Linked DNA regions of Homo sapiens: all the other regions are linked to region 1. The links are contacts of gene promoters, found by promoter capture Hi-C in human tissues and cell types (Jung and others, 2019). All regions are on one chromosome and are shown on one strand. The core of a region is centred on a gene start or on the middle of the fragment in contact, and the rest is flanking DNA. Distances in the headings are between cores, read along the strand shown.

Region 1 (5,166 bases), core at 684-3,183:
CCCCTCTCGTGGACCGCAGAGGAATGCCGAAAGCAAAACAGCTATCATAGCTGCTCCTTAGCCAAGCAGGCAAGATTCATCCACGTTAAGCCCAATGCCATTCTCTAGGCTGAACCAAAGCCGAACGCTGACGGAGATCTCCAATAGAAGGTTTTCTTCAAGTCGAAGGTGTTGGTAAATATTTTGGGTCACTTAAGGGCATCTCAAAGGAAGCCGACACTGACTTTTTCCATGCAAATAAAATACATCGAACATCAAGTTGACATGCCAGGTTTGCTCCTAACTGCAACCTTACCAAGACAGTGAAAGCCGAAAAGTTATAGTTGTATTTTTCTACTGCATTCTGCCTGTCTGTGCGATTTGTTTGTTAAGGAAATGGGGAGAGATTTTCTAAAGCAAAAGCTACCTGTTCCCAAATCATGGGTCTTGATTTTAAAAGGTTTGGAGAACTGAGATTTCAAAAGCACATGAAGGCTGCTCGTGACTGTTCCCGGGGTTCATCTGAGCCTTTAGGATTTTCTCCACTGCTTGCATGGGGTGGGGGGAGGGGAGGAATTGTCATTTTAGGATACGCTTTCTATAGAACCAACATGTAGCCACACCAAGGTGGGTAGAAAGCTTTCCAAACTCCAGCGAAGACAGACAATACCTGACTATTTTGCTTTTCCCACTCACTAGGATTGGGCGACAGCTGAGCTGGTTCAGCAGGGAGTCCAGCTCCCCGGTGCCCAGGCAATGGCTCTGGACAGCACCGCGTTCCAGGCTCCCCGGCGCGTCCTGGACTGCTTGGCCGCGGCTACCCTCTCCCGCCCGCCTTGGGGTCAGGGCGCTGGAGTAGACCGCGTTTGCAGGAGGCGCGCAGCGGGCTGCTCTTTGGCCAAGAGGAGGCCATTTGGCGAGGGTGGGTAGCTTGGGGAGGGCAGTGTGAAAGCAGGGGAGGGCCGCGGGGCGTGGGGAGGGGCTGCGGACAAGCCAGACAGCGCCGGCCGAGACATCTCCGGGGCCCGCAGGTGTCCCGGGAACGCACCACTGTGCGACCGCGGGCAGCAAGACACTGGAGAAGGGCTGCGTCGACGCCCCCGCCCAGCAAAACCCCTGGAGGAACTGGGACCTGGGGGGGATTTGGCCCAAGGCAGGGCGGGGAGGGGGCTCGATTCCTGCAGTCGCGTCCCCACCCGCCTCGAGAGGCTGAGTGCCCCGGTCTGTGGCCCCCGTGCGTCCCGAAAGGATCCGCAAGGAAGCTAAGGGTTTGGGGGAGAAGGCAGGCGGGCTCTCCCCAGGCGCTAGGCAAAGGGGAACGCGCCGGGGGCTCCTGGGTTCCCAGGGTCTCCCCAGGTCTGTCCAAGTCCGGGAGATGCGCGCTGCCAGGGACTTGAGAAGGAGGTAGCCGCCCGTTCACCCAACTTTGTGCGCCTCGGCCGGGGTCGGGGATGGGGTCCGGGGACGCGTTACCTGGGCACTGGAGCGCAGTCAGCGCCAGCAGGAGCCCGAGCGGCGGCGCCCGGCCCGGGGGCGGCATGGTCCTCGGCGCGCGGTGGGTGCGGCGCGGGGCTGCTCCTCTCGCGCGCCCGGCCCGGCCCGCGGCTCCCGGAGCAGCCCCCGGCGGCTACGCCCGGGCGCCGGGCATGGCTCGCTCCCAGCGCGCCGCTCCTCCCCAGACGCATGCGCCGGCGCTGGCGGCGCTTCCTCGGCTGCGCCTCTGCGCGCTCTCCTGGGCTCGGCCGTGCGTGGCTGGGGAGCTGGGGCGGCCGAGGCTCAGCGCCCCGCGCCCTGGCCGGCTGCCCCGCAGTTGGCCCGAGTTGCGCGGCCCCCGCCGCCGCCGCCGCCGCGGCTCCTGCGCCCCAGCGCCCGTCCCATCCCGGTCGCGCCGCCGCCGCCGCCGCCGCCTCTGCCATCGCCATCTGCCGGCCGCCCCTCGAGCCAGCGAGAGAGTGAGCGAGCGAGCGAGCGCCGGGGGGAGGAGGAGGAGGAGGAGGAGTAGGAGGAGGAGGAGGAGGAGAGGAGCGGAGGGCGGGGCCGCGGCCGGGGGAGGGGCCGCCCGGGAGCCGGGGCACAGGCGGCAGCCCGGCCAGTAGGCGGCGGGACGCGCCACTGCTCGGCGGTTCGGGGGAGGGCGCCCGGCCGGGAGGCTCCGGGAGCCCGCCGGGGGTCGCGGGCGCTCGCGGGTACAGGGGCTGCGGGAGGGGTGCGCAATGCAGAGAGGGGATGCCCAGCTAGATCCGGCGTCTTGGGGCGCAGCGGTAGGAGTTGCCAAGGTCGAGGGGTGAGGAGGCCAGCGGAGGGTCACCGGGATGGGGCAGCGACCTCTGGAGAGGTGGTGTCTGCCGGGGCCAGAGACTGCAAGACTGAGCGCGGACAGGAGGTCCCGGGTTAAATGTGGCACAGCTAGGGAGTGCCTGTGGGAGAGGGGAGAGGAGAGAGGGGAGGGCCTCCGGGAGGCCGAGGCTGTGTGCAGAGCCTCTGCACGGCACCGGGATGGGGGCTAGGGGTGCGCAGGCTGGGTGCGGTGACCTGAAACACAGCGAAGGCGGCCTGGGGATGGCCACCCGGGTGAGGCAGGGTCCCTTATTTACCCAGGCTAGAGGATGCGCCTTCCCATTTCGCGCAGGCCCTAGGAGCACGCGGAGGCAGCCAGGAGTTCTCCTGGGAAGGGCAGATTCCCTGGCGGTCCCGGGAATGAGTTCCCAGCGCAGGGTCAGGCAGTGACGGAGCGGAGGTGTTGCGCAGGGCCGGGTACTAGGTGGTCGAATTCTTCCATCCAGGGGCAGGGACGCAGCCAGAGTGCGGAGGGAGGTCACAGGTCACACGGAGCCCCAGTACCTATTATCCCAGAAACCACTGATCCTCCTGGGCGCCCCACCCCCAACCAGGGCAAAGCCACGGGGGGCTAAGCCGAATGAATGAGTCATGCTGGGAGCATGTGGGGGAGCCTCCAGCAGCGCTCAGATGCCTTCAAGCTTCCCCACCACGCTGGGAGGACAGGGGATATGGGGGGTTGCCCACCTGGGAGGGTGGCTTGGAGTCCTGGCTCCGCCCCAGCCCCCACCACACCAGCCACTTGCTCTGCCATCTCAGTTTTCCATGAAAAAGTGGGTCAAACTCTTTGAAAATGGTCAATAAGGCAGCGTGGGGTGATGAAAAGACAGATTTGGGGAAGGCTCTGGAGTCATGGAGTCTTGGCTGAGAATCCCAGCTCTGCCGCTCCTTAGCTGTGCAAGCTGGGGCGAGTCCCTTATTCCTCCCTGAGCCTCAGTTTTCTCATCTGAGAGATGGAAGGCATTGCACATCACCTGGTGTCCCCAATAACACATACAAAGCCCCTGACCTAGGAAGTCGGAACTCATTTAAAGGAGTCAGTGTCAACATTATCATTCTCATCATCATGGCCATTATTATGATAGATCTGATTTTCCTCTGCGGGCCCAGAGCTCACATCAGAAGGACAATCCTCCCCACTCCCGGCTGCCAAGAGGGGATGGGGGACAGGGCACCTGCTTGATTAGTACAGACAAGCTCATTAGCAGAGGCAGCACTCAGTTCTTCCTAGATAAAAGAAGGAAGAAAGCCAGGGGCAGGTGGTGAGTCTCCAGCCCAGGTTAATTAGGAGACGTAAAGGGATTTTCCCGTGGCTGTTAATCGGCTTCCTTTACAAGGGGCCCATGCCCAGGCCAAGCCCCCTTTGGGCTCCCTGGCAAGGCCTGCAATGTGTGGAGAGCCATACAACAGGCTGGACGACGGGATTGGGGGTCTCCTCGGGCTTAGGGTGGCCTTGCGAGGGGCCCATCTGTCCCCTTTCTGTGACCCTTTCCCCAGATAAGAGGATGATCCTGGAGACGTGGTCAGGACTCTCTTAGGGTCCTCTGTGCCCGGCTGCCCCCAACACCTCTTTCCTGTTCACTTGTTCATAAGCATCTGCAGAGCTGAGCACCTACTGTGTGCCGGCCTCTGCAGGGGATGGTGAAGCAGAAATGAATGGACGACAGCAGGGGAGAGCCACAGCAGGAGTGACCGCGGGGTGCTGGTGCCAAGGTGAACCGTGTGTTTGACCAGGAAGCAGGTCAGTGAGGCTGGGAGACTGTGGCCAAAGATAAAAGTCATTTTCTGGCAGGGTAAGGGGTCATTCTGTGGCTTTAGTGGCGGTGCTTGGAGAGGGTTGTGAATCAGTCCAGCAAGTCCCCAAGCCAGTGGTCACACAGTCCCAGGTGTGATGGCAGATGGCAGTTGCCTTCCCCCCAACCCCACACTCAGGACTACCTGGTCATACTCCAAGAAAGCACCTTTCAGTGGGGAAGGGCACTTCCCCATTAAAATATGCTGATGGTGGTTGAGCCAGACGCTGAAGAGAGGAATCTCCTTTTGAGGGTAGCTTTTCCATGCCCCAGCTGTGTGACTCTGGACAAGCCCCTAATCCTCTCTGAGCTCATACGTGGGGTAGGGATGAGAATTCCAGCCTGGCTCAGCCTGTCTTGTGGTTGGATGAGGATTTCTGCATATTAACCATGCCCCTAAGCCTGTATCTCTAAAGGGGGTGTTTCTGGAGGAAATAAGCAGGGGAAAAAAGCCTCCCTGGATTCTGAAGGGCGGGGGGGAATCTGAGAGGCTGGCGGCAGTAACGAGGAGACCCCAGGGCTGAGCGGAATTCTCCTCTCACTCCTACCTAGACTCTCGCCCCCAGCCTGCTGGCCTCATAGCCTGGGCAGGACCGTAAGAATTACACAGCCTACAATCTCCCCCTAAGTATAGATGGGATACTGAGTCCAGGAATTGTCCTTCTCCTGGATCTGTAAGTGTGGGGAGGCCGACTCGACTAACAGCCAGCCTCGAGCCCCAGCATAGCCATGCAAGGCTTCCTCAGGCCGCACCACCCCCTGCACAGCAAGAGACTGCCTCCAGCACGGATTGCTCCCGGTCCGTCCCCGCACCCCAGTTCTGCTGCAGCTCAGCCCACGCGCCCGCCGGGCTACCGGCGAAGAGCAACATTGCCATCTCGTGGCTGAAACTGGAACTGCAGGTCTGGAGGGCGCTGCAGAAGGAAGGTCAGGGTGGGGGTGCGGGTAGGGGTGAGATGGAGGCGAATAGGCAGAGAGGTTTCCCCACCTCAGCCAACTGGCAGCGGCAATAACAGACCCCTTTGCCCTTGAACGCCAACACGCAGGCAGCTGCTGC
Region 2 (5,166 bases), core at 1,453-3,952, 500 kb before region 1:
GGGATTAGTCCTGGCTCGGCCTCCAAGCACCCCTGGGCGTGTTCTCTGACTCTGGCCTCAACTCCCTCGTATGCAGGCTGAGGATAATAGTGGCCTCTTCCTGCGTGGGATGGGTCCTTAGGGAAGTGGATGCTGAAACAAGGTTGGAGGAGTAAGAGTTCCCTGAGGGGAAAGCCTGTGAAGGGGAGGAAGCAGGGTCGCGCTGTGAGAGCTCAGACCACGGGCAGATCTGGAAAGACTCCAGAGGCCACATACTTGATGCGGGAGGTTGAGCTCTTGCCTGAGGGGACATCCAAGCAGCACACCTTCAGGACCACTGCAACTTCCACCGAGCCAGCCCCAGCCCCAGGCAGGAGCAACAAGCAGCTCCCTCGAGAGATGGGCTGGTCTCTGAGGCAGTCAGGGAGCTTTGGGGATTTTCTTTTTTTCTTTTTTTTTTTTTTTTGAGACAGGATCTCCTTCTGTTGCCCAGGCTGGGGTGCAGTGGTGCAGTGGTGCGATCATGGCTCACTGTAGTCTAAAACTCCTGGGCTCAAGCGATCCTCCCGCCTCAGCCTCCTGAGTTGGTTGGTCTACAAGTGCACGCCACCATCCCTGGCTAATTTTTTAAATTTTTAGTAGAAACGAGGTCTCACTATGTTGCCCAGGCTACTCTCAAACTCCTGGGCTCAAGCAATCCTCTCGCCTCAGCTTCCCAGAGCTCTGGGATTACAGATGTGAGCACCACCACATCCAGCCTTTTTTTGTTGTTTTTAGGAGACGAGTCTCTCTGCATTGCCCAGGCTGAAGCACGCTAGCTATTCACAGGCAGAATCACAGCTATCAGCTCACTGCATCCTTGAGCTCCTGGGTTCAAGTGATCCTCTCAGCTCAGCCTCCCAAGTAGCTGGGATTACAGATACATACCACCGCGCCAGGCTATGGAGGCCCCAACCGTGCAGTTGATCTCAAGGCCACCTCTGCTGTTCATGGTTTCCTTGCCAATGTCCATTCCAGATTCTCCCACCAACCCTCCCCTCCCCTGGTCCTGGTGGCTCACATGCTAGTAGGACCAAACCTCCCTCCCTGGGGCCCTCAAGCCCTGGTGGCCATGCCCTCCAGAGGCTGGAGTGCCGCCCATGTCCACTCACAGTCACAATGGGGCAAGAGGCACCCATGGGGGTTACCTGAGCTCCACGCTCATTCCTCCTTCCCTTCATGTGTGACCATAGTTTTAGGTGCCCTGGATAAATGGCCACATGACTCCCTTGCTGCTGGTCCTCACATGCAGGAGTCCAGGAGCCCAGGCAGTGGCCATAGCTTGCACTTTAACAAGACCCTTTCTCTGTCCCCCAGAAAGCAGGCACCCCACATTCAGCCATAACCTCCAGCACACAGAGCCCAGAGTTGTGACTATGTCAACACAAACTCCCCCTGAGGACCTGGGGACTATGGGAAGTGGGGCCACTCCTGCTTCTGCACCTTGAGTCCTGGTCCTGTGTGGTCTTCCTGTTGGGGACACAGCACCACATAGAGGTCTGATTCTCCCTAGGTTGGGGGGCAGCATCCCCTTCTCACAGAAGCTGTTATGGAGCTGGTGTTTCAGCAGCATGTTTCCACGCCACTCCCCTGCACTGTCAGGCAGGCAGCTCCGTAAGGTCCAGCACATGAGATGACCAACGTGCATCATGCTCCAGCCCACACCAGCACCTCCTTCCTGTGCAGTGGCTCCCCTGATGCTATGCTGCGTGGGATTCAACGCCTGTGCATTAGTCACCCCAGAACCCCCTGGGGAGAGGTGCTGGCTGGGACCTTGCAGCCAAGAGCGGGAAACCCCTTCCAGCACAGGTGCACGTTTCAGTGGGAACAAGCTCCTGGCCCTTCCAGTACAGAAGGGCCCCAGGAAGCCTGGCTGGCCTCGAGAGATGGGCTGGTCTCTGAGGCAGTCAGTGATGTGCCCTCTGAGGTCCCTCTCCTAGAGGGAGCCCACCCCACAGAGTGCAGAGAGCTGACAGCCTCTAGCTGTGGGCACCTCAGGCTCGGCCTCAGCATCTGAGCCAAGGACATGCTTTTCCTGGGATGCTCCCAGCCAGTGAGCACCGCGGGGGTACAACAGCTCCACATTGCTGGTGTGAGGCTCCTCCATGGCCATCCTTGCATGGGAGCTCCCCCGTGGGTGGGCTGAGGCCTTCTCCAAGCTGCCCTATGATCTGGGCTCCTTCTTTGCTAAACCCTTTCCTTCCTCCTCATTTTCACAGGTGCCAGACATGCATCATCGTCCGAGGGCTCCCCTTGCCTTCCTCTGCACCCTCTCTCCCCTTCCCTGAGTGGGCATCTCCTGTACTTCCAGCTCCACCCTGGTGTCTGCTTCCCAGAGACCCTGCACTGGCACAGCCTCCACGAGGACATTGCCATCACAGGGCACAGCATTGCTCTTGCAGCTGGCAGGCTGGACACTCAGAGGTGGCTGCTGCTGAACCAGGCTTGAGCAGTGAAGTCCACACTGCTGGGGCTGTGTCTCCTCAGTCTCTGCTGCCATGGCCCCTCTGGGCATGTGATCATTGCTCCAGTTTGGGTTGGCCAATGACAGATCAGCTAACGTCAATGGGCTGGGCCTCCTTGTCTACTCATTGTTGAATGCCTTGCCTGTGATGGATGTGTCTGGGTGAGTGCTAACACATTAACATTCAACGGAAGGATTTTCACTTTGTGTCCAATCTCAGGTGATCATCCAGTGTTTCATCCCCAGAACTCCTTGTCCTCAATCTCTCAGATCCATGATTAGCCCACCAGGCCACCCATTACTGCCCATGAGATCATATAAATTCTCACTTCAAGCCACATCCCCTTCCACACAAAGTGGTTGTACAGGGCTCTATTCAAGGTTCTGCCCAGTGTAAAGATCTTTCCTCTCCACTGCCTTTCAAGGCCACGCCTGGGTATGGCTATGATACAGCAGCTGACCATTTTGGTCTCACATCCACATGTTGGTGGGTTCATCTTTAGACTAAGCTCCAGTGTGTTCCCCCTCCTCCAGGTGTCAGAGACCCTCAATATGGCCACAGGTATGTACTGAGGGATGGTGGGTTGCAACAGTTGTGGGCAACATGGGGTCATCCGGCCACAGGTGTACACTGAGGGATGATGGGTTCAACAGTGGTGGGTAACCTGGGGCCTGGATTCTGCCCATGCAGCTTCCTCGTGCCCTCTGATCCTGCTCAGGCTCAGGGCTGGACTTACCATTTCCGTCTTCCAGTGGACCATACTCAGCTGACCTAACGTTATGACTTGGAGGATCCTAAAGAATCCAGCTCATGAAAGACGGTTCCAGAGGCACAATCACTGGTCACTCAGTACCTCACCCACATCAAGGTTTCCATTTCTGCCAGGGCCCAACGGCATGCCAGAGATGCTCCTCAAAAGACATTAAATTCTCTGCTGCAAGCTTTTTTCCATGCTATGGTACCCTCTCAGCAGGGTTGCGAGGATGAACTGGGACACTGGGTGTGATGTTGCATCACGAAGCTAAATACAGACGAGGAAGGCTTGTATGAAGGGGGTCCCTCCCAGCAGAACTCAGAATACAGCATTTGGACACATCTTGGCAGATCACAGTGATGGCTGGAAAAACATCCTCCAGGAACATACCTGGATCAATTGTCTGTGATTTTTAACAGCTGGGGATCTGAAGGGGAAATGCACGTAAAGGGAGGGCTTGGGGAGAAGAGAAAGCAGCCAACAGGGAGATGGACAAACTTCCAGCACCTTCCCCAGAAGGGAAATTTGCAGGGGCTGGCTCACCATTCCACAGCTCCTTTCACCTCCCTCTCCACTTCTGCATCCACTTTAATCCATGATTTATGAATGGAATTAATAGAAACCAATCAGGCATGGCTATGCCTACAGCGCTTTGTTCAACAACACATGTTTCCCATAGTAATTATGTTAGAATAATCACAACACAGAAAAAAAAAATGCCTGGTCATCAGTACTGAATCACGAGTGCTAACAAGACTGATGGTTTTACCAATAAAACTGCCAGCAAAGGAAGCTGGGAGAAAAGACACACAGGCCTAGGGCTGGCCCTGCTTGTCGGCATGTTTTGCAATCATCATTCCAACTTTCAGTGGCTCCATTTCCTCTACTGAGAAAAAGAGGAATTTCTCTAGTTCACTGTTTCAGTTGGTTCTGCAAGACACAGATGTCCTGGGGGAACTGGCCTGGGAAAGAGGGGAGGCATTTCTCATTGTAAACAGTCCACCATTCCCTGAAGTTATTGGCTGTATAATAGAGTTTGTTCGTTTCTTTGTCTGATGCTGTCCTGATCCACTTTTGAGGCTTCTGGCAAAAGGCAGGGGCAGTTCCCCTTCTTCAGTATCTGATTAAGTCCATGTCCCCCACCACTTCCCTTATGGGTTTCCACACTCCAAGCCACTATGCATCTCCCTTAGTGCTCTAGGGCTGGGTATCAAACAACTAGAGACAGCTCTGAGCCCAAGAGCCCAAGAAAGTCCTCAAATTGCCAGTCCACAGGGAGCCCTGGAAACTTAACCAAGCCACTGCACTCGCCACACATTATGTGCCCTGCAACCTTCACTGCCCATGATGCAGCCCTCACTGCCCATGACGCAGCCTTCCCTGACCATGACGCAGCCTTCCCTGACCATGACGCAGCCTTTCCTGACCATGACGCAGCCTTCCCTGATCATGACGCAGCCTTCCCTGACCATGACGCAGCCTTCACTGCCCATGCTGCAGCCTTCCCTGACCATGACACAGCCCTCACTGCCCGTGACGCAGCCCTCACTGCCCATGACACAGCCTTCCCTGACCATGACGCAGCCCTCACTGCCCATGACGCAGCCTTCCCTGACCATGATGCAGCCTTCACCCACAACGCAGCCGTCTGCATAGTCCCGCCTGGAAGTTCCCTCTCTTTTGGAACTGTAAGCAACAGAGTTCTGCCTTTTATCTTTCTGTCACTGTGTTCTGTCTCACCAAAAACAGGACCTTTGAATCTTATAAAACAACTGCCAGAACTTGGGCTCTAGAAGAGGTGGATCTGCGCCCGACCAGTCTTTCGTTGCTCCCCTACTGTTTAGCTGTTCTGTTCCTCACTGCAATTCCTAGTTTTCTCTTGTATCACTCATGCAGCATTGGAACAGCCTAGTGAGTACTCCTGACTCA
Region 3 (5,166 bases), core at 1,023-3,522, 360 kb before region 1:
ATGGCTTCTTGCCATCTTGCATTGACTGCGGGACAGGTGTAGAAAATGGCATAGAGATGAGTGGAATAAAGTCTGAAATACAGAGAATTGGGAGCTTATCATGAACATCTGTTTTTTGAGGTCTACTCTTTACCCATTTTCCCTTCTACTGATATCAGCACCTTCATTAGTATCTCTTGGAGGAAGCCTCCTTTTCTAGACCCTAAGTGAATGTGGTACATGGAGAGTTGGGAGCTGAACCCATCCCACAGTTCCATGGATGAAGAGCCAGACCCAGGCCACCTAATAAACCTCTTTCATCTCCCTGGACGCAGTGATTATTCCAAGTTAAAATATGAAATTTAAATCTGTGACTATACTTGCAAGTTTTTTTTAAGTTCCGGGGTACATGGGCAGGATGTGCAGGTTTGTTACATAGGTAAATGTGTGTCATGGTGGTTTGTTGCACCTATCAACCCATCACCTTAAGCCTGGCATGCATTAGGTATTTTTCCTGATGCTCTCCCTACCCACCACCCTCCTGCAACAGGGCCCAGTGTCTGTTGTTCCCCTCCATGTGTTCTCACTGTTCAACTCCCACCTATGAGTGAGAACATGCAGTGTTTGGTTTTCTGTTTCTGTGTTAGTTTGCCGAGGATAATAGCTTCCAGCTTCATCCATGTCCCTGCAAGGAACATGATCTTGTTCCTTTTTATGGCTGTATAGTATTCCATGGTGTTATATGTACACAGTTTTTTTAATCCAGTCTATCATTGATGGGCATTTGGGTTGATTCCATGTCTTTGCTATTGCAAATAGTGCTGCAGTGAACATAAGCATGCATGTATCTTTATAATAGAATGATTTATATTCCTTTGGGTATATACCCAGTAATGGGATTGCTGGATCAAATGGTATTTCTGGTTCTAACCTTTGAGAAATCACCACACTGTCTTCTACAATGGTTGAACTAATTGACATTCCCACAAACAGTGTAAAAGCTTTCCTATTTCTCCGCAACCTCGCCAGCATCTGATGTTTATAATCTTCTTAATAATCGCCATTCTAACTGGTGTGAGACAAAAACAAGCAACGGAAAAGGATTCCCTATTTAATAAATGGTGCTGGGAGAACTGGCTACCCATATGCAGAAGGTATTTAAAAAGCACTACAGTCATCCCTAGGTATCTGCATAAGATTGGCTCCAGGATCCAGAACTTGAAGGAAGCTCAAATCTCTTATATAAAATGATACAGTATTTGCATATACCTATTCATATCCTGCTGTGTAGTTTAAATAATCTCTAGACTACTTATAAGACCTAAAACGATGTAAATTTTATGTAAATAGTTGTTAGACAACATTGGTTTTTTAAATTTGTATTGTTTATTGTTGTATTGTTGTTTATGGTTGTATTATTTTTTATTGTTAAGTTTTCTAATATTTTCCATTCATGGTTGGTTGAATCCACAAATGCAGAACCTGGAGATAGGGAGGGATGACTGCATTATCATATAACTGAATTTTTAAGCTATAAGTATGATAGGGGTCACCACATTGACAGAGACTGTCTGGACTTCTGAGAAAAGTAGAGCCTAGAAATGAATAAAGACATATATGGGTCCCTGGATTCAGCTGTTTCTAAAACCCCAAGTATCCCTGGACTGTTAGACTTTCTGTTACATGCAACTGAAATAAGTGACTGAATAAGGGTCATATTCTGGGATCACCTTCCTAGATCTGAAATATGCATTTCTCATTTCCTGAGAAAGCAAACAGCATCATCAGAATGGAGGCCATCACACAGTCCAACAGCTGCCACATTGCTGACGCTCGTCTAGCACCCTGTATAATAAGATACCAAAATAATTAAAAGCCTGCTCTCCAATATACTCAAAAGAACAGAAAGCAAGGCTTCGAAGAGATATTTGAACACCCATGTTCACAGCAGTGTTATTCATAGAAGCTATAACATGGCAGCAACCCAAGTGTCCATCAACAGATGAATGAATGGATAAGCAAGATGTGGTCTACTCACATATAATGGAATAGTATTCAATCTTCAAAAGGAAGGAAATTCTGACACATGCTACATGGATGAGCCTTGAGGACAACATGCTATGCAAAGTAAGCCAGCCACAAAATAATAAATACTCTATGAATCTACCTACATGAGGAAAATCACAGAGGCAGAAAGCACCATGGTGGGTGCCTGGGACTGAAAGGAAAGAGGAATAGGGAGTTAGTGTTGAATGGGTACACAGTTTGAGTTTTGTAAGATGAAAACAGTCCTGGAGATGGATGGTAGTGATGGCTGCATAACAGTATGAATATATTTAATAACACTGAACTGTACACTTGAAAATGGTGACGATAGTAAGTTTTGTGATATTTTACCACAGTAAAAACTTCAGGAAAAAACAAATCTACCATCTAAAGACATTATTTTCCTCCAACAATCCTGACCTCTACCCTAGCAGACTCTTGAAGAAAGACATTGTTGAGCAGCAACATGGACGCAAGCTGTTTTCTCTCTGGGTTAGAGGTACGCATTAATGTACAGGTCAAAGAGCAAATCAAATTCATGCTAACTTTTCTAACTCATACATGATTTTATGCTTCCCAGAGTGGCTTTGCACCACCTTTGGTGAGGTCCACTTTGAGGAAGCAGGTGTTCACTTCTTTTTTTTTTTTTTTTTTTTTTTTTTTGAGACGGGGGTTTTGCTCTGTCGCCCAGGCTGAAGTGTAGTGGTGCGATCTCAGCTCACTGCAAGCTCCGCCTACCGGGTTCACGCCATTCTCCTGCCTCAGCCTCCCAAGTAGCTGGGACTACAGGTGCCCGCCACCACGCCCGGCTAATTTTTTATATATTTTTTTTTAGTAGAGACGGGGTTTCACCGTGTTAGCCAGGATGGTCTCGATCTCCTGACCTCGTGATCCATCAGCCTCGGCCTCCCAAAGTGCTGGGATTACAGGCGTGAAGGCGTTCACTTCTTTAAAACACCAGGTCTCGGTGGACTCACAGGGTTGCATCTGTCTATGTCTCCTCCCTTGATTTGAGGAAGTCATTTAGGCAGGATAGCACTATGGAAGCTGAGGAATGCTGAACACTCTCACCTTTTAGGGTGAGATTTATAAAGCACTTTGGCATATTAAAGGCTCTTAAGAAGTCCTGTGGTAATGAAATCTACCTACCTTTATTTAATTAAATTTCTTCCATATTTATTTGACACTCCAACCTCTCACTTTTCAAGGCCCATGCAGTCACATCCTGTGTGCCAAGAAATACATGAGAGAGAAGGCTGTTTTAGTGAACATCTGTCCAGTGATGCAAAACCCCAAGAGGCTGTATCAGAAGAGACAGTGTCAGGACAGACAGAATCAGGGGTGCCAGGGTCAAGCCCTAGCTCCCGCATAAGAGGCTGCCTGGCTCCTTCTGAAACTCAAGTTTCCTGCTCAATAACAAATATTTGTTGAGGACTCTCTATATGTGTCAGCTGCTGTTCCAGGTGCGAAAGATATAGCAAAATGTGTCGTGACAATGATTATTATGAAGAAAAACAAAGCAAGAAAACTGAAGCAGCATAAAAGGAGTTGGTCGTTCTCTCCAGGGTGATCAGGGAAGGCCGCTCTTACCAGGTGATATTTGAGCAGAAACCAGATTGAACTGAAAGCATGAGTCTTGTAGACATCTGGAGGAAGAGAAGGCCAGGCAGAGGGAACAGGAAGTACAAAGGCCCTAAAGCAAGACCATGTATGGCACATCTGAGAAACAGCAACAAGGCCAATATGGCTGGAGGGGAGATACCAAGGAAACAGAGAGTGATTAGGAGGTGAAGTCAGAAAGGTGGCCAGGGGCCAGATCTGGTGAGCTCTACTAGGTCATGATAAGGATTTCAGACGTTTTTCTAAGTGAGAGAAGATGACAGTGGAACAATGGATCAGAGGTCAGACATGATAGGTCTGGCTGCTGCGTGGAGAGCAGACTGTAATGAGCCAGGGTAGAACTAGGAGAGATTACACCACAAACCAGGCAAGAGATGCTGGTGGACTTGAGTAGTCACTGTAGAGGTCCTGAAAAGTCTGGATTAGGGACTGGATAGCCACAGTGGCTATAACAGTATCAGATAAAGTAGATTCTATAGCACATAATATTACCATGGACAAAGAAGTTAGTCTCATAGTGATAGAAGGTTCAATTAATCAATGTAATATAACCATCTTAAATTTTATATATCTAATAACAGAGCTTCAAAATGGATAGAGCAAAATCTGATAGAACTACAACAAAAAACAGACAAATCTCCAACAATAGTAGGATATGTCAAAACCCCCTCTCAATAATTGATATCAAAAAGTGGGAAAAGAATCAGCAAGGACTTAGCAGACTTGAACAAAACAATCAACCACCTTGACCAACTGACATTTATAGAATAATCCACTCAACAACAGCAGAATACATTTCTCAGTGTGCACAGAGCATTTATCAAGAGAAATTATCTCTACACCATAAAGCTAGTCTTAATAAATATAAAAGGAATTAAGTCATATAAAGTATGTTATCAGCCACAGTGGGATAAAAGTTAGAAATCAGTAATAGAAAGATATCTGGAAAATGCCCCCAAACATTGGAAAATCTGTAACACATTTCTAAAACCTATGGACCAAAGAAAAAAATCAAAAGCAAAATTAGAGAATATTGTGAACTGAATGAAAAATGAAAATACAACTTATGAGAACTTAGGGGAAAATTTATAGCACTAAATGTCTATAGGGGAGAAAAGAAAGGTCTACATCAGTGACTGCTTTCACCTTAATATATTAAAAAAGAGAAAATTAAAACCAAAGTAAGCAGACAAAAAGAAATCACAAATATGACAGCAAAAGCCAATGAAATATGAAAATATAATGCAAAATCTATGAAATCAAAAGTTGATTATTTGAGATCATTATTAAAATTGATAAAACTCTAGCCAGACTGATCAGGAACAAAAGAAAGAAGACAAAGAATCAATGCCAGAATAAGAAGGGTGACATCACTAGAGAGTCTAGACATATCAAAAGCATAATAGGGGAATATTATGAATGACTGCATGTCAAAGTTCACTCAAAATGACAGCCAACCATTCATCAAAGAATTGTGAAGATGAACAAGGGCCTGCCCTCACGGAGCTTACATTCCCAGGA
Region 4 (5,166 bases), core at 962-3,461, 340 kb before region 1:
TGACAATGATGAAAATTATAACAGCTCAACATTATTGAGTGCATGCAGTATGCCAGGCCAATGGGCAAACACTTTACCTTAGTATATCATTTAATCCTCACAAAACTATCAGGCAGGGAATGTGATTTTTACAGTTTACAGATAAATAATTGGAGCTTCAGAAAGATTGAGTGACTTGCCCAATATCATGAAGCTAGTAACTGGAGTTCAAATTTCAAACTAGGCAGGTTGACCCAATAGCCCTCACTCTTGACCAAAATATCTCACTGCCACCTACCTCGAAGGTAATCATAATTGAAATTTTCCCAGGCAAATCAATAGGATAACGAAACTGGCTGGATAGAGAGGATTGTTAATCCCACACGCCAGCTGAATCTGATCCAGTGCCCTATCTGGGACATTTTCCCTTTACATACATGACTTTTATATTTGCTTTGATAGTTTAAGCATGTTCATATTTTTTATGGCTCAGTTTATCCATCTGACACCACTGTGAAGTAGACAGAAGAGGTACTCTTGCTTGTAAACTCACACATGAGCTACTAAAGCAAAGGGAGGTTAGGTGACCAGCCTGAGGCTACGTGGAGAATGAGAGGCCAGCTGGGCTTTGACTTCGGGTCTCCTCCTCCCAGTCCCAGGATTAGAGGACAGTGATGTGAAATTGTGACCAGAGCCCACCCAGCCCCTGTCCTGTGGCTGTCCACATCCCCCCTGGGGATGAGGATGCCTGTGAAAACTAAGAGACTCATGTTCCTTGGTGCTCTGGAAGCTCTGCTCTGGGGTCCTCTGGAAGAGCCAAGCACAATGAAAGTGCATCCCCGATGAGGAGAGAGTAGTATCCCTAGGATCTTGGAGCTGTCAGAGGTGCTAGAGTGACATGGAGGCCAAGAGAGCTCCCAAGGCAGCAGCCTGGGAGGCATTAAGCTGTAAGCTGGTGCAGGCAGCAGCCTGGGGCTACAACACAATGACAGAGCAGATCATGCGAGAAGAGATGGAGAGCCCTGAGCACCCAGTTTGAGGAAGCTCCAACTAGAGAGAGCTGGAATCCTGCATAAGCAAGTGTGGTAGGAAAATAACAGCCCCCTCCAGAGATGTCCACGTCCTAATCCCAGAACCTGTGAATATGTTACTTGGCATGGCCAAAGGAATCTCTGCAAGTGTGATGAAGTTAGGGATCTTGAGATGGGGAGATTATCCTGAATTATCTCGGTGGGCCCCATGTCATCACAAGGGTCCTTAAAAGGGAAGAGAAAGCAGGAGACTCAGAGAAGGTGATACAATGATGGAAGCAGAGATGAGAGTCACGTGGACCCACGAGCCAAGGAAAGCTGATGGCCTCTAGAAGCTGGAAACGGTACAGAATAAATTCTCCCCTAGAGCTTCCAGAAGGAACCAGCCCTCCTGACAACTTTGCTTTAGCCCAGGGAACCTACTTAAGACTTCTGACCTCCAGAACTCTAAGAGAATAAATCTGTAGGTTTTTAAAGTCATTGAGTTTATGGTAATTTGTTAGCGCAGCACAGGAAAATTAATAATATGGCAAGCAAGAGCTCTCTAGCCAATGGACTCAGGCTCTGATGGTAGGCATAACCATTTGTTCATTTGCTGAGCAAATACTATATATTCGGCACCATGCTGAAAAAACATCCAGCAAGCAAAACAAGCATGGCTCCTCTCATCAGGGAGCTTGAAATCCAGTGTGGAAGACCTGCAGTATGCTTGTTATCGATTCATGGCCTCTCAGCTCCAAGTTCACCCCTCATTACCTGCTCTGTGAAAATAGATCTGAGCCCTATTTTAATATTTTTGCTTTTCCAATGGGCACGATATTAGGCTTTGTCAGTAGAACATACTGGAGAGACAGTTTGGGAGGAAAGGGTTGACTTTCTGATGCTGAGGCCCTCTCTCTGCAGCTCCTGCCATGCACAGACCTTCTCCAGCATTGGTGGCTTCCTCGGTGTCCCACTCCTACAGTTCATGGTGGCCAGCAGCACCTCACAGCTGGCAGCTTTCCCCAAGGTCCACCTTCAGTAGTTTGGTAGCAAGTGCATCACTTGTGAACAGCTGTCCCTAGCACTACAGAGGACAGATTCCCATCAAGCTCTACTCGAGTGCTGCATCAGCAACTTGTCTGCCATTCAGTAAGCTGTGACCATAACCTCTCAAGAAATGTTGCTTTGGGGGGATAGGCAGGGAAACCTCTTCTTTCAGCATTATAGTTCAGCCCTCAGGCTAGCAGCTGCTCCCTGTATCTGCCATTCCTATACTCTTTAGAGTTCTCTTCACTTCTAACTAACCAATCCCTCACTATCCCAGTCCTCTGTGATAGTTAACAATTCTCTATTTTAAACTTTCCGTGTTCACATTCTTTCTTATGGCTGGACCTAGACTGAGACAGACAGGACACAAACACTCATAAATAAGCATGGATCACAGACTGTGATGGGATCTGCACAAGACAAGGACAAATAAGTGAAAATAGAAAGGGGGAGACTAATTTAGCCAGAGTAACCAGGAGAAGCCTCTCCACGAGTTGACCTTCAAATGAAAAGTGACAAGAAATCAGCCATAATGGAGCATTCTGGGCCGAGGGAGCCAAAAGGAGACCTGAGAGGAACGAGACTTGGCATGGCCACGTTCTGAATATGCAAGCTTCTGAGGGACAGGCTGGATTTGGTTCACAGGAGTCACATCATGCAATAAAACAAGCAAGATAATGGCACTGGCTGGAGCCCGTCACCCTCAAATCCAGTTCCTGGCCCTCCTCTGATCAGTTCTGGATCATAGCAGTGTTGAGCCCTGAAGATGCTGCTTCCTAAGCTTATGCCTCAGCCAGCAGAATGAGATTAAGTGAAAGACTTTGCAGGATCTGGCAGGAGGAGGGAGGCAGAAGCCAGGTAATTCCTCACCCCGCTCCCAGCCCTGCCTCAGGTAGCATCCTTCGCAACAGTTGAATCTCTCCCACACTCCAGCCCTAACCAGGCTGCTCAAATGTGATTCTAGCTGCAGCAGTGACCCCCAGGTCCTGGGCTCTGGTAATAACCCCTCCACCCTCACCCTCTGGCCTGGGGGTAGTAGCAGATTCCCACTCTTACTAGGGTGCCCAGCTCTCTTCTGTTCTACATCTGCTTCTCATCTGTTTCATTCCCTGTGTACTTAAGTCCTTGCATTTAAAGCTGCTCTGTTCTAACTACAGAGGGATTTCTGCTTCACATCAGACTCTGAAAATAGTGAGCCCATTTTTTGTACATTATGTAGCTATGTACCCTAGTGCCCTTACTTCATGCAGGGGCAGTCCAGCATTAATTGCCACTGATCTTTCCATGACTTGCTTTGGAATAAGGAAAAGGAGAAGGGGAAGGGGAAGAGGAAGGAGGAGAAGAAGGAGAAGGAGAAAGAAGGAGAAGGAGAATGAGAAAGAGAAGGAGGGGAAGTGAAGGAAGAGGAAGAGAAGGAGGAAGGAGAAGGTGGAAGTAGAGGAGGTGGCAGCAGTGGTAGCTTCCAAACCCACAGTGAATGCAGTGCTACAGATAAAGCATAGAGCAAAGTGGTAAGGACATTGAGTAGAGATTTCCCAACCTCAGCCTGACCTAGCTGAGCTGGAGAATTTATAGATGGGTTCCCAGGCACAAGGGATGCAGTTTCATTCCACCTTAAAACCCACACCCATCCATCTCTGTTCCCTAACAGGTACTTCCCCGTCTAGATTGGCTGCCTTCAAACCACAATGTGGGTCAATGATGATAGGAATGATCTCCGTCAGTCTAATCTTCAAAAACTAAATGACCCTGGAAGCTTGGACTAAAGCACAGATCCATTCATTCATTCAACAAACATTAACTGTGCCAGCCATTGTGCTAGGTGCAGGGGTGAAAGATGTGGACACAACTGACCAGGATAACCCTACTGTCATGAATCCCACCTTCTGGGGAGGAAGACAGAAAATGAACCCTAAATATCAACCAGTGATAATGTCTAGGAAGAAGATAAAACAGGATGATGACAGGTAGAGGGTGATGAGCTGGCAGGGGAGGGAGGGCCAATTTTAGCCAACAAGGTCAGAGAAGGTGACTCCCTAACAGTTGAGGTGGGGAAAAGGACCCAGACGTGGGAGATGTAGGGAAAGTGTGTTCCAGCAGAGAGACACATTCAACGCACTTGAGACACTCGAGATTCGGGGATGGCAGAATTAATTCTAAGATATAGGGTTCAAAGGAGTCTCAACTTTGTTGTTTAACTTGCATGATGAATGATCAAAAGCACCCACAGATTTTTCTAGAGTATCTGGACATGGATCCCACACTTTGGTACCAGACAGGAAAGTCAAGGCAGTGCAGAAAATGGTTGAACATTTCCAGTGTGGAAAAGGGTATTAAGCAGGTAGTACCCATGGACTTACTGTCTCCGTGGAATCTCTGGAATTTAGGCTCTGGAATCTCACCCATGACCCTGATCTCAGATGTAGCCCCTGAGCTTGACTATGAACGTAACTTCAACCAAGCCCAGGAGAAGAAATCCAATCACCTCCAGGCCAGTGAAGCAGAAACACAGACAGTTTTGTGGACTCTGGGGCTCTACCCAGCTTAAAGTGGTCAGTTCCCAGCAAGGCTCTTTCAGTCCATCTGCATTTTAGAGTTTTCCAATCCATAAGTTACCTGGGAGACTTAAGGGCAAAGCCAATTGACAAGGGGTCAGTTACTTGGCATATAGAGCCACTGTTCCCAACGTGTAACCCTGATGCATTTCAACAAAACTGTTTTCACTCAGCGCAGCACTCAGTCCTGATATGCACGCAGATTGAGAAAATAAAGAATAAGGGCTCCCCAGGAAACAGTTCCGCAATATCCACAAATGAAAAGGGATTTACATGGTAGACCTTAAATAGTTCCCAAGGAGCCATTATGAAAAGCAGGTAGATCAAATGCAATTTAAGTATATTTTCCTTGTTTAAACAGTGTATCAGGTATGTGGAAAATAACAGATTATACAGTGCATCATGTTTAAAGAAAACTTCTTTGTGACACTTCCTCTGAAACCCCCAGATTCCTCACCATGGCAAGAGGGACGATGCCCACGAAGGTTGTCTGGCTGACGAAGATCTCGGAGACGACCAGCTCACTCATGGAGTCCTCAATCGGGTACTCCACCTGCCAGGTAATCTGCTGG
Region 5 (5,166 bases), core at 1,628-4,127, 310 kb before region 1:
GCTCTTCTGGAGTTTATATTCTAGTAGAAAGAAACAGTTAACACGCAAATAAAAAATAGATAAGGCAACTATTCAATCATGAATTTGGTATAATCAGTGACCTTTCCCAAATACTTCCAGCTCCGCATTTTCTGAACACGCGAGAGTACTGCACATCTGCTCCACTTGGGATTGGGTGGGCCCAGGTGACTAGTTTCAACCAACCCATTTTGTATCTCCCTTCAGTCCAGAATACGTACTTAGTTACTAGCATGAATCTCTGTTTCCCTCTGCCACAGCCACCAGCAACTTTCAAGATGAGGTGCTCCTTCAGCCATCTGAGGCACTGTAGTTGTCAGATTCCTCCTGCTGAACCTTGAAGAGCTCATATTTTGAGTGAGAAATAAACCTTTGTAGTTTTAAACCACTGAGATTTGGGGGTGGTTTGTTATCACATCATAAAATAGCCCATTCTACTGGATGCAGAGATAAAGATAAAACAGGATAAAGTGATGGGGAGAGAGATCATTTAGATAAAGTAGTGAAAGGAGGACTTTCTGAAGAGGAGAGATTTGAGAGCTGAGATTTCAGTGGCAGAGGACAAGGATCAGGGTTCCAGGCAAGGGGAACAGCAAGGGCAAAGATCCCAAAGTGTAGTAAGTTTGCTCCACTCAACCACACAGGTCCTACACATGTGCACATGGGCACACACATGCATTCGTGCGTGCATATGTGCACACACACACTCATGCAGATACACACACACGTGCACATACATGCACAAAATGAACTACGACAGTACCCTATTTTCACACAACTGGAAAATCAATGCTACACCTGAACGGTTATTCCTCATGGGTTTGCAGAAGTGTCCTCTTACATCTTACAAATACTTAGCCTTAGAGACATCCACCTGCACTCTGCCCTATACAGTACATGAATAATCTGTCATGCTTTCCAGACTGAGAGTCTTGCAAAATGGTCTCCTCCACCTGTCAATATTAGCATACAAAGGACACAAAATCTCCAAAGATGAGCTCCAAAAATGTCAGACCCCAGTACATTATTCAGCCATGGCATCCCACAAAATTGGGACCTAATTTAACAAATAAAAATATGAGATGTCCTGTTCTCACTTACAAGTGGGAGCTGAACAATGAGAACACATGGGCACAGGGAGGGGAACAACACACACTGGGGCCTGTCGGGGGTGGGGTGGGGAAAGGGAGACCATCAGGAAAAACAGCTAATGCATGCTGGGCTTAATATCTAGGTGATGGGTTGATACATGCAGCAAACCACCATGGCACATGTTTACCTATGTAACAAACCCACACATTCTGCACATGTACCTTGGAACTTAAAATTAAAATTAAAATATATATGGGATACCCAGTTAATTTTGAATTTCAAGTAAACGACATAATTTTTAATATAAGTATTTCCCAAATATTGTATGGAACAGAGAACAGTATTGCATAGAACATACATATACTAAAATATTATTCCTCATTTATCTGAAATTCATATTTACGTGGGTATCTTGTATTTTATCTGGCAATTCTCCACAAAATGGAAAGTCTCTTTTCTCTCAAAGATAGGAAGCTGTTTGTGAACCTTCCCATCCAATTACCAAAAGACAAGTTGAAGGATTTCTCAACCTTACAAGAGACTGGATTCCTAACTTTTCTGAACTGGCTCTCCCTTTATTCGATCTGACAAAAGCTGACATAAAACCCTTGTTCTGAACTGTCTTCACCTGTCTTCTGTTTCTTTGAGGACTTCCTTCAAAACCTTCCTATCCTTAGGCCCTCCCAATTACTATACGACTCTCTCTCTACTTGTACATCAAAGATAGGGACAAGCATTGGAGATCCTAACTCAATAGCACAAGGGAGATCAGAGACCCACCATTTATTAGTCTCTCGCTTGACCCCATAGAACAAAAATCTACTCTCCTCATTTGCTGCAACCAAGTTGACCTAAGCCTGCTACCTGGAGTTAGGACATCCACGTAACCTCACAGCCCCTCAAGCCATTCAGACTTTACTCTTCCCTGATAGTACCCAGTATTTTTCTATTTCTAGATTGACGTCCTACAAAATTCTTCCCCTTCCATTTCACATGTTTTTATCCATTCTTATGACATTCCAAATAAACCTCTCCATGCCTTACCCTCTGCAAGAGGAACCTCAGATTATCATGTCCTCAAATGGGAATGTTTCTTGCCTCCCTCTAGCTTCCTTGAAACACCTTGAAACTAGTGGTCCTCAAATGGCACCAACTTTGTCCCCCAGGGAACAGTTAGCAATGTCTGCAAACATTTTCAGTTGTCACCCCAGGGTTAGGGGAGGTCCTACTAGCAGCATCCAGTGGGTAGAAGCCAGGAGGCTGCTGCACTTCCTACAATGCCCAGAGATTTGTAGAGATTCCCCACCAGAGATTCCCCCAGCCTGAAATGCCAATTGTGTCAAAAGCTGAGACATTCTGCTTAGATAATTCAAACTTACAAGTGTTTGTAAGTGAGTCCTGTTTGAGAACCAAAGAGGCTCTCTATTGCAGGATCTGGCCAGCAGCCTGCAATGCAACGGGGCTCTCTCTTTGTTCCCAGGTGGACTGGCAGGTTGAGAAATAATAGACACACACAAGATAGTGAAAGCTGGGTCCCGGGGGATCACCGCCTTCTGGTCCCATGGTGCCAACAATGCACTGGATATACCAGCATTTATTATTAAGTTTAGTGAGGGTGGGGGTAGGTTAGTGAGGGATTTAGGGTCATTTGATTATGAGGTGAGATGGTCACATAGGGATGAAGTAATTCTTTAACATAACATTTGTATGCAGAAGTACAGTATACAAAGATAAGAATTTACAATATAGTGTGTGCGTCAGTAATTTCTAACAGAGCCTTAAAACAGAAACACAATCTTTCCATAACCTATGATTAGTAAAATATTATCAGCAGTAACAGTTGCAGCAAAAGCTTGTTACAAACAATCCACAGAAACAGGACGTGAAGCTAGACAACCGGTTAGACCAGAAATTCTCAGAAGGGAGTATGCCTTAACCCTAAAGAGGCCTAGAAGAGCCGTGGCAAGATGAGGGCGTTTATAGCCCTATCTTATCCATATGGACAGGCACCCCCCATGCGTCCACTTATAGGCTCTCCATAAGGGTCGCATTCCATTCCCAGAGCTATGAACATCTGCTTTTCTGGGATAGGAATCTTGGTGATGTGAAACCTCCCTGACTGCATGTCCATTCATAGGCTCTCTGCAGGGGGAAGCACATCACGCGCTGTTGGCTCATTCTGGCAGTCCAACCTGGCATTGTCTTTACACAATCCTGCATGCAATTTTGTATTTACAATAATCAGGAGCATTTCATCTTTTATTCCATAGCAATAGTCTCAGGGGTTCTCCCTATAGCTCTCAACTCAATCAGTCTTGCTCAAATCCAATCTCCTCTGAAAGGCCGAAATACTAAATTTGGTCAACAAATTATCAAAATTTTAGAATTTCCTAGGGCCTGTCAATTAGCTAGAGATATAAGATCAAATGTCTAGAGATACAAGATCAAATGTCTACACAGACAGCAGATATGCTTTGGGGATGGTCTGTGATTTTGGTAAGCTTTAGGAGCTTCTTATTTGCAGCTGGCATTTTAATTAAACATGATAACCACACCAAAGGCCTAGTAGAGGCCTTGCTTCTCCCAGATGAATTGGCTCAATTAATGTTGTGGGACTTACTCAAAAGCAATCTCAAAAGCAAAGGACAATCCTATAGAGATTATTATTATTTTGCTAACTGAGCATTCCCAAGCTTATCACCAACAGGTCCAGGTCACTTTCCCCAAAGATAACCCACAGGAAACCTGCATGCCCTTTGGGCAGGAGACCTGATTTACTAGAAATGAAAGCAATGGAAGACTGTGCCAGAAGCTCTTAGGAAGTCACCTCCAGAGACACCGTTAACCAGTATCCTCTGTAAGGACATTAGAACAAGCCCCATGGGACTCTAGTAACCCAAAGTAAATAAATGTGTTCCAAGGACCCCGCAGCCTGGAGTGTAAGCTGGTCTTTCCAACTAGAATCAGGGGGTATCCTCTTTACCTGTCTCCTGAGTTATGTTTTCTGAGTCCCTCCACCAGGGGACCAGCCTGGCTGGTTTATAAAACACAGGCTAACAAGACGTGGCACATGGACTGCAATGTCCTATTATGTAATCACAGACATTTCTCTGCTAGGAAGTCAGATATTGTCTCTGAAACATGCTAACAACATGGTTAGATGTCTCCAGCCAACAAAAGCTATTTGCTTAACTGACTGATCTGCAAGTGAAGGGGGCAGCAAAGGATGCTGTGTGTGATTTTCTCCACACCCTCACCCACCATCCACATACACACAGTGATTTATTGCACATATTCAGTGCAATTCCTACTAATGCTAAACAGAAAAAACACCTAGCCATCAACTCAGCATTCCCATGTAAATTAAATCATCCTTTACTGTTCTTCTCATTATCCTCCCAGCCTTCTGACCAGGACATAGAAATATACACCCTCAGAGAACCAGAGGATGCCTCTAGTTTAAAACACACTGGCTTGTAGGGTCATGTGGATCAATTTTGGCCAGTGAGTGGTAAATAAAGCAGCGTGTGTCAGGTCTGGACTGATCATTTAATTGCTAGTGGGAGAATTTCAGGGCTCTCTTCCCCTTTGGCGTGGTGAAGGATGACAGTCAGGATGGTGGTTGCTTTGTCTAAACTCACAACAACGAGCAGAGTCCTTTGCCAACTCATGATCAAGCATGGCTAAGATGTAAACGGGTCTCCTGTTCACCACTGCACCTGTCAGTCATGCCTGCCTCAGGCATGTTCCTGCTAGCCACCGGCTGCTCAACCCCAACTCCTGGCCACCTGCTGAGCGGGAACTCTTACTTGAAATGATTACCTAAAGCTTCATCAATAAATGAGTTTTTCAGACAAAGTCAAACTCCTAGCTTGATCAATAACATCTCAGAAATCAATTAAAGTAATAATGCAGCTCAATTTATGCTTAGGTAAAGAGAGGAAGAAACCCCTGGTTCAGAAGAAGAGGGCCCGAATGACTTCACAAAGAAAGAGATACAGATAAAAACAGTCTGGACAGTCCACAGTCAACACTTACCGAGGGTTCAAAAGGAAC
Region 6 (5,166 bases), core at 944-3,443, 260 kb before region 1:
TAAAAATATACATGTACATATAACATGTACAAATCCACATACACATACAGTTAAACATACATGCATACCCATATATACAGGTACAAATGTGAATACACAGTTTTGAAATCATAAGTCATACCACTACCTCCAGTTACAATTCAATGCCACAAGACTCTTTCTACATTTAATATTCAAATGTCATTTCTTTGGTTGGCTCCCAACTACACTAAAATGTTGACTCATTTGCTTACTCTTGAAAACTTCTAAAATTATTTCAGAATTGTTACACCCCTACCAATGCATAAAACATATTTACTTACAAGGACACCAGGATTTTTGAATTAAGGCCCACTCTAACCTACTGATACTTTAATCTTTGACTTCTAGTGCCTGGAACTGTGAGAAGTAAATTTCTATTGTTTAAGCAAAAAAAAAACCCCACAATTTGATACACTTCCATGTCATACCATACTCCCCAAGATACTAGAGAAAGATGAGCAAATTAAACAGAAAGGAGAAAACCATAAAGATAAAAGTAAAATCAATGAAATGGAAAATAGACAATAGAGAAAAGCAATAAAATGAAAAACTAATTCTTGGGAAACATTAAAAAAATTGATAAATCTCCAGCCAGACTAGTCAAGAATAAAACAGAAAATAGAAAAGTTATGAATATCAGGAATAAAATAGTATTACAGATCCTGCAAACATTAAAAGGGCAATAAGAGAATGTTATAAGCAATTTCATGCAAATAAATTAATTCAGCAAATTCCTTGAAAGACAAATACCAAAGCTCACACCAGACAAAATAGATAAACTGACCAGATATTTCCTCAAAGATATATGAATGGGCCAGGCGCGGTGGCTCACGCCTGTAATCCCAGCACTTTGGGAGGCCGAGGCAGGCAGATCACCAGGTCAGGGGATCAAGACCATCCTGGCTAACACAGTGAAACCCCATCTCAACTAAAAATACAAAAAATTTAGCCGGGCATGATGGTGGGCGCCTGTAGTCCCAGCTACTCAGGAGGCTGAGGCAGAAGAATGGTGTGAGCCCAGGAGGCAGAGCTTGCAGTGAGCCGAGACTGCGCCACTGCACTCCAGCCTGGGGCACAAAGCGAGACTCCATCTCAAAAAAAAAAAAAAAAAAAAGATATATGAATGCCAAATAAGCACAATAAAAGATGCTCAAAATTTTAGTTATTATGGAAATGTAAATAAAATCACAGTAAGATACCCCTATATACTTACTAGGATGGCTAAAATTGAAGACTGACAATATCAAATGTTGACAAGAATGAGGAGCAACTGAAACTCTCATACATTACTGTAGGAAGCATAAAATCATACAATCACTTTGAAAAACAATTTGGGAGTTTCTTATAAAATTAAATATATACTTACCATATGACTCAGAATTCCCATTCCTGAGTATTTACCCAAATATTTGTATGTGAATGTTCATAGCAGCCTTATTCATAATAGCTTGCAACTGGAAACAAACTAAATGTCAATGAACAGGTGAATAGACAATAAATTATATCTATACAATGGAATACTACTGGGATGGGGAAGTTGAATACTGATATACACAGCATCATGGATAAACCTTAAAGCATTCTTCTGAGCAAAAGATGCCAGACACATCTTTTCATCTTTATTAAACTGTAGGAAAGATCCATTCAATCTATAAAAATGAAAAGCAGGTCTGTGGTTGCCTGGGAAGAGGAGTAGGAATGTCTGATTGGGATAAAGCACAAAGAATACTTAAGATCAGACAGTATGGCACTATTCTGCATCTAGTTGATGGTGATTAGTTGGGTGAATAAATTTGTCAAAACTCATCAAAATGAATTTTTTTTTTTTTGAGACAGAGTTTTGCTCTTGTTGCCCAGGCTGGAGTGCAATGGTTGCAACCTTCACCTCCTGGGTTCAAGCAATTCTCCTGTCTCAGCCTCCTAAGTAGCTGGGATTACAGGAACCCACCATCATGCCCAGCTAATTTTTGTATTTTTAGTAGAGATGGGGTTTCACCTTTTACCAGGCTGGTCTCAAACTCCTGACCTCAGGTGACCCACATGCCTTGGCCTTCCAAAGTGCTGGGATTACAGGTGTGAGCCACCGCAAGTGGCCAAAATGTACATTTTAAATGGATATGTTGTATTGTATCTAAATTATACCTCAAAATATTTTGATTCTTAAAAAGGCAGCCACAGAAAGAAGAAATATTACCATGAAAGTAAAAATAGACTGACAGCAACTTCTCAACAGAGACAATGTAAGCCAGAAGACAATATAATGATATATTCAAAGTGCTGAGAGAAAATAACTGCCAACTTAGATTTCTACTGCCAGGGAAAATATTATTCCAGAATAAAAATGAAATAAAGTCATTTTCAGACAAATAAAAACTGACACCATTTACCTGTAGCAGAGACTACTAAATAGAATACCTATAAAGGCAGAAGAAAAGTGAACCCAGATGATTAGAGATGTAGGAAGAAAGAAAGAGGCAAAAAAGAAGCAAATACATGTGTAATATATGTGAGTGTTGACTATTAAAATAATACTTATGTCTTATCATTTATAGAAAAAGAATATTAACCTACACAACAATAATGGCGTATACAGAGCATGATAAATGGAATTAACATATTATAAGGAATTGTCTGGATATGTGGTAAAGTTATCAAATAATATTAGATTTTCATAAATAAAAGTGACGAATTCTCTAGGGTAGCTACTAAGGCAATAAAATGGTATATAACTTTGAAGCTAATGAGAATTTTTTAATTATTTAATTATTTCATCCTTCCATTTAATTCAAAAAAAAACAGAAATAAATACAGAATAGAATAGGAGTAAACAAGGGAAAATACATAGTAAGACCACAGATTAAAACACATATATTAGTCTTCACATTAAGTGTAAATAAACAACATATGCCAATTAACAGACAAAGGCTGACAGACTGGCAAAAATATAATTAAAACACAAGAGACATATCCAAAATATCTGAAACATAGGTTGGAATTAAAAGTTTGAAAAAATATATATGCCACATAAATAGTAATCAAAAGAAAACTGGTATAAAATAGCAATATGCAGTAGATTTTAAGACAAAAAGCACAGATATAGATAAAGAGGGTCACTTCAAAGCAACAAAAGATCAAATTAATCAAGGATTCATTGAGTCATGGTAACTCATTAGTTCTTAAGTAGAGTAAAAGCAAATCCAAAATGCAATACTCTGGTCCTTTCATGGTTGCTAGCCAGCATGTGATGGTAAGTAGTTAAATGACTTTGTGCCTTGGTTTTTATTCGGCTGCAATACCAGTCTTGGTGGCTTCCTGAGGTTGTTAAGAATGCCAAATGAGGTACTTCATTATGTGTGAAAGTGAATATGACTTGAACTGGAGAGGACAAAGAAACATTTATGGAGTGCCTACTATGTAGGAGAAACTGCCCTAAAAGCTTTATTATTCTTCATCTCTTGTAGTCTTCCCAGCAACCCTAAAATACATTTATTTTTATTTGCATCTATACAAATGAGAAAAAAGGAGTCTAGAAGAGACTAAAGGTCTTCCCCAAAATAAGCAAATTACAGAGCCAGGATTCAAATCCAACTTTTTTTTCTACTCTAAAGTTATGCCTAATCCTGGTTACTTCTTAATGAACATTAAGTTAGGTCTTCTAACTAGATATTCTGTAGGCCACTTTATTATATTACTTTCTAAAGCTCTATTTTAAGTTCACATCCTTAATATATAAATAGCTCATACAAATCAATAAGAAAATATTAAGATGCCAAAGGTAATAATAACTAGCATTCATTGAGCACCTACTATTTGCAGTCTGTGATCCAAGTGCATTGTATGAGTCACCTCACAACAGTTCTGTGAGGCCAAGCATCAGCTGGAGTCCAGTCAGTAATTTGAACAAGAAAAAAAAATTTAAAACAAATAACTATTAACTATAATGGGGAAGAACTTATCAAGATAAAAAGAGAACTCAGAAGAATACTGTGGAGCTGATGAAAAGTATCCAAGAAAGGAACAACTTGGCGGGGGCCTGGAGAGACCTCCCCAAGACTGGGATTCAGACTTTGTTGGAGAAAGCGAGGTTGCAGCCCCCAGGATAGCAGAGAATTCCACTGGGATGCCCACCCCAGAGCTGTCTCCCTGCGAGGCAAGGAGGGAACTCTATCCTGGGATGAAGGATTGAGGCTGGTGGGTGGGTGGGCAGGGGTGAGTCACAGTGTTGAGAGCCACTCCCCAGGAGGGTAGCACATGGCCTGAGGTGTGAGATGTCTGTCTCCAAGTCAAAGGAGCCAACTCTCCGCGGTGCAGGCTGGTGGGGTAAGCAGAGGGTGTCAGGGCAGCACAAGGCCTGGGGTGCACAGTGTCCACACTAGAAGGCCCCAACAAGATGGTACCCAGGCCTGGCCAGCTTGTGAGCTTGCCAAGGGATCACACGCTCAGGGTTCACAGCTGGGGTGGAGTGACTAACACTGGATGTCCTGCCCATGCACCACTGCAGCCAGATGTCAGCAGGAAAAAGAAGAAAAAAGAGCAGCACTCCAGATGCAGATCCCTCCTCCTACCATGTTCCTCCAGTGTCCTCTGCTGACAAAGCTTAAATACCGTACTCACTGCAGAGAAGAAAGGCTTAGACTTTGGCCCATTGTCTCAGAGCAGGTGGTGAAGGGTGAATTTGAGATTGAGGAGTAATACATTTATAACTGGGAAAGGTAGGTACATTAGTATAGCCAATTTACAAATGAAGAGACTGGGGCAGCAAGGGGTTCTATGCCTAAGGTCTCTAGTGATAGGGTCAGGACACAGATCCAGAGCCCACCTCGTCAACCACAAAGCTTCACTTCCATCAGTGGGAAAAGACAATTACCAAAAGTGGAAATACAAATGATTAATAAATATCTGAAAAGTTTTTTTTTTCCATTGGAGAGGAAAATCAATGTAGCAAATAATTGACTGTATCTTTACACTTATCAAATAAGCAAAAATGTTAATGTCCTTAGACCCATACTCTGAGGATGAGATGAGTTGAGCAGTTCATATACTTCTTGGAGCAGTGTTTCAGTAAGGGTTCAACTGGAGATGTAGAACTAGTAGGGGATATATGTTAAGGGGATTTGTTGCAAAGAATTGCCTTCCGTGGTTGTG

The links. The method cuts DNA at HindIII sites, captures the fragments that hold promoters and counts their contacts. A contact is called where the count stands out against the background at its distance.
Region 2: a contact is called between a fragment that was not itself captured here and the fragment with the promoter of TMEM132B in region 1, in 1 of the 25 tissues and cell types used here (H1 embryonic stem cells).
Region 3: a contact is called between a fragment that was not itself captured here and the fragment with the promoter of TMEM132B in region 1, in 1 of the 25 tissues and cell types used here (dorsolateral prefrontal cortex).
Region 4: a contact is called between a fragment that was not itself captured here and the fragment with the promoter of TMEM132B in region 1, in 2 of the 25 tissues and cell types used here (H1 embryonic stem cells and dorsolateral prefrontal cortex).
Region 5: a fragment that was not itself captured here is called in contact with the fragment with the promoter of TMEM132B in region 1 in 2 of the 25 tissues and cell types used here (H1 embryonic stem cells and dorsolateral prefrontal cortex).
Region 6: a contact is called between a fragment that was not itself captured here and the fragment with the promoter of TMEM132B in region 1, in 2 of the 25 tissues and cell types used here (dorsolateral prefrontal cortex and liver).

The regions. Positions count from the first base shown.
Region 1 is chr12:125,183,153-125,188,318 of GRCh38, reverse strand. It overlaps TMEM132B (transmembrane protein 132B), which reads right to left and starts at 1,933. Exons shown (of 9, transcript NM_001366854.1): 1 at 1,453-1,933. The coding sequence starts at 1,519. RefSeq lists a silencer at 1,941-2,150 and an enhancer at 2,199-2,732. The HindIII fragment of the contact is 11,061 bases long and covers 1-4,638 here.
Region 2 is chr12:125,684,948-125,690,113 of GRCh38, reverse strand. No RefSeq gene overlaps it. Among named protein-coding and RNA genes, the nearest start is that of LINC00939, 300 kb to the left of the region's middle. The HindIII fragment of the contact is 7,013 bases long and covers 1-5,166 here.
Region 3 is chr12:125,539,548-125,544,713 of GRCh38, reverse strand. All of the region lies in intron 4 of TMEM132B (transmembrane protein 132B), which reads right to left. Among named protein-coding and RNA genes, the nearest start is that of TMEM132B, 360 kb to the right of the region's middle. The HindIII fragment of the contact is 4,820 bases long and covers 1-4,682 here.
Region 4 is chr12:125,519,511-125,524,676 of GRCh38, reverse strand. TMEM132B (transmembrane protein 132B) reads right to left here. Exons shown (of 9, transcript NM_001366854.1): 4 at 5,052-5,166. Among named protein-coding and RNA genes, the nearest start is that of TMEM132B, 340 kb to the right of the region's middle. The HindIII fragment of the contact is 5,080 bases long and covers 1-4,751 here.
Region 5 is chr12:125,497,563-125,502,728 of GRCh38, reverse strand. All of the region lies in intron 3 of TMEM132B (transmembrane protein 132B), which reads right to left. Among named protein-coding and RNA genes, the nearest start is that of TMEM132B, 310 kb to the right of the region's middle. The HindIII fragment of the contact is 5,731 bases long and covers 12-5,166 here.
Region 6 is chr12:125,444,934-125,450,099 of GRCh38, reverse strand. All of the region lies in intron 3 of TMEM132B (transmembrane protein 132B), which reads right to left. Among named protein-coding and RNA genes, the nearest start is that of TMEM132B, 260 kb to the right of the region's middle. The HindIII fragment of the contact is 7,222 bases long and covers 1-5,166 here.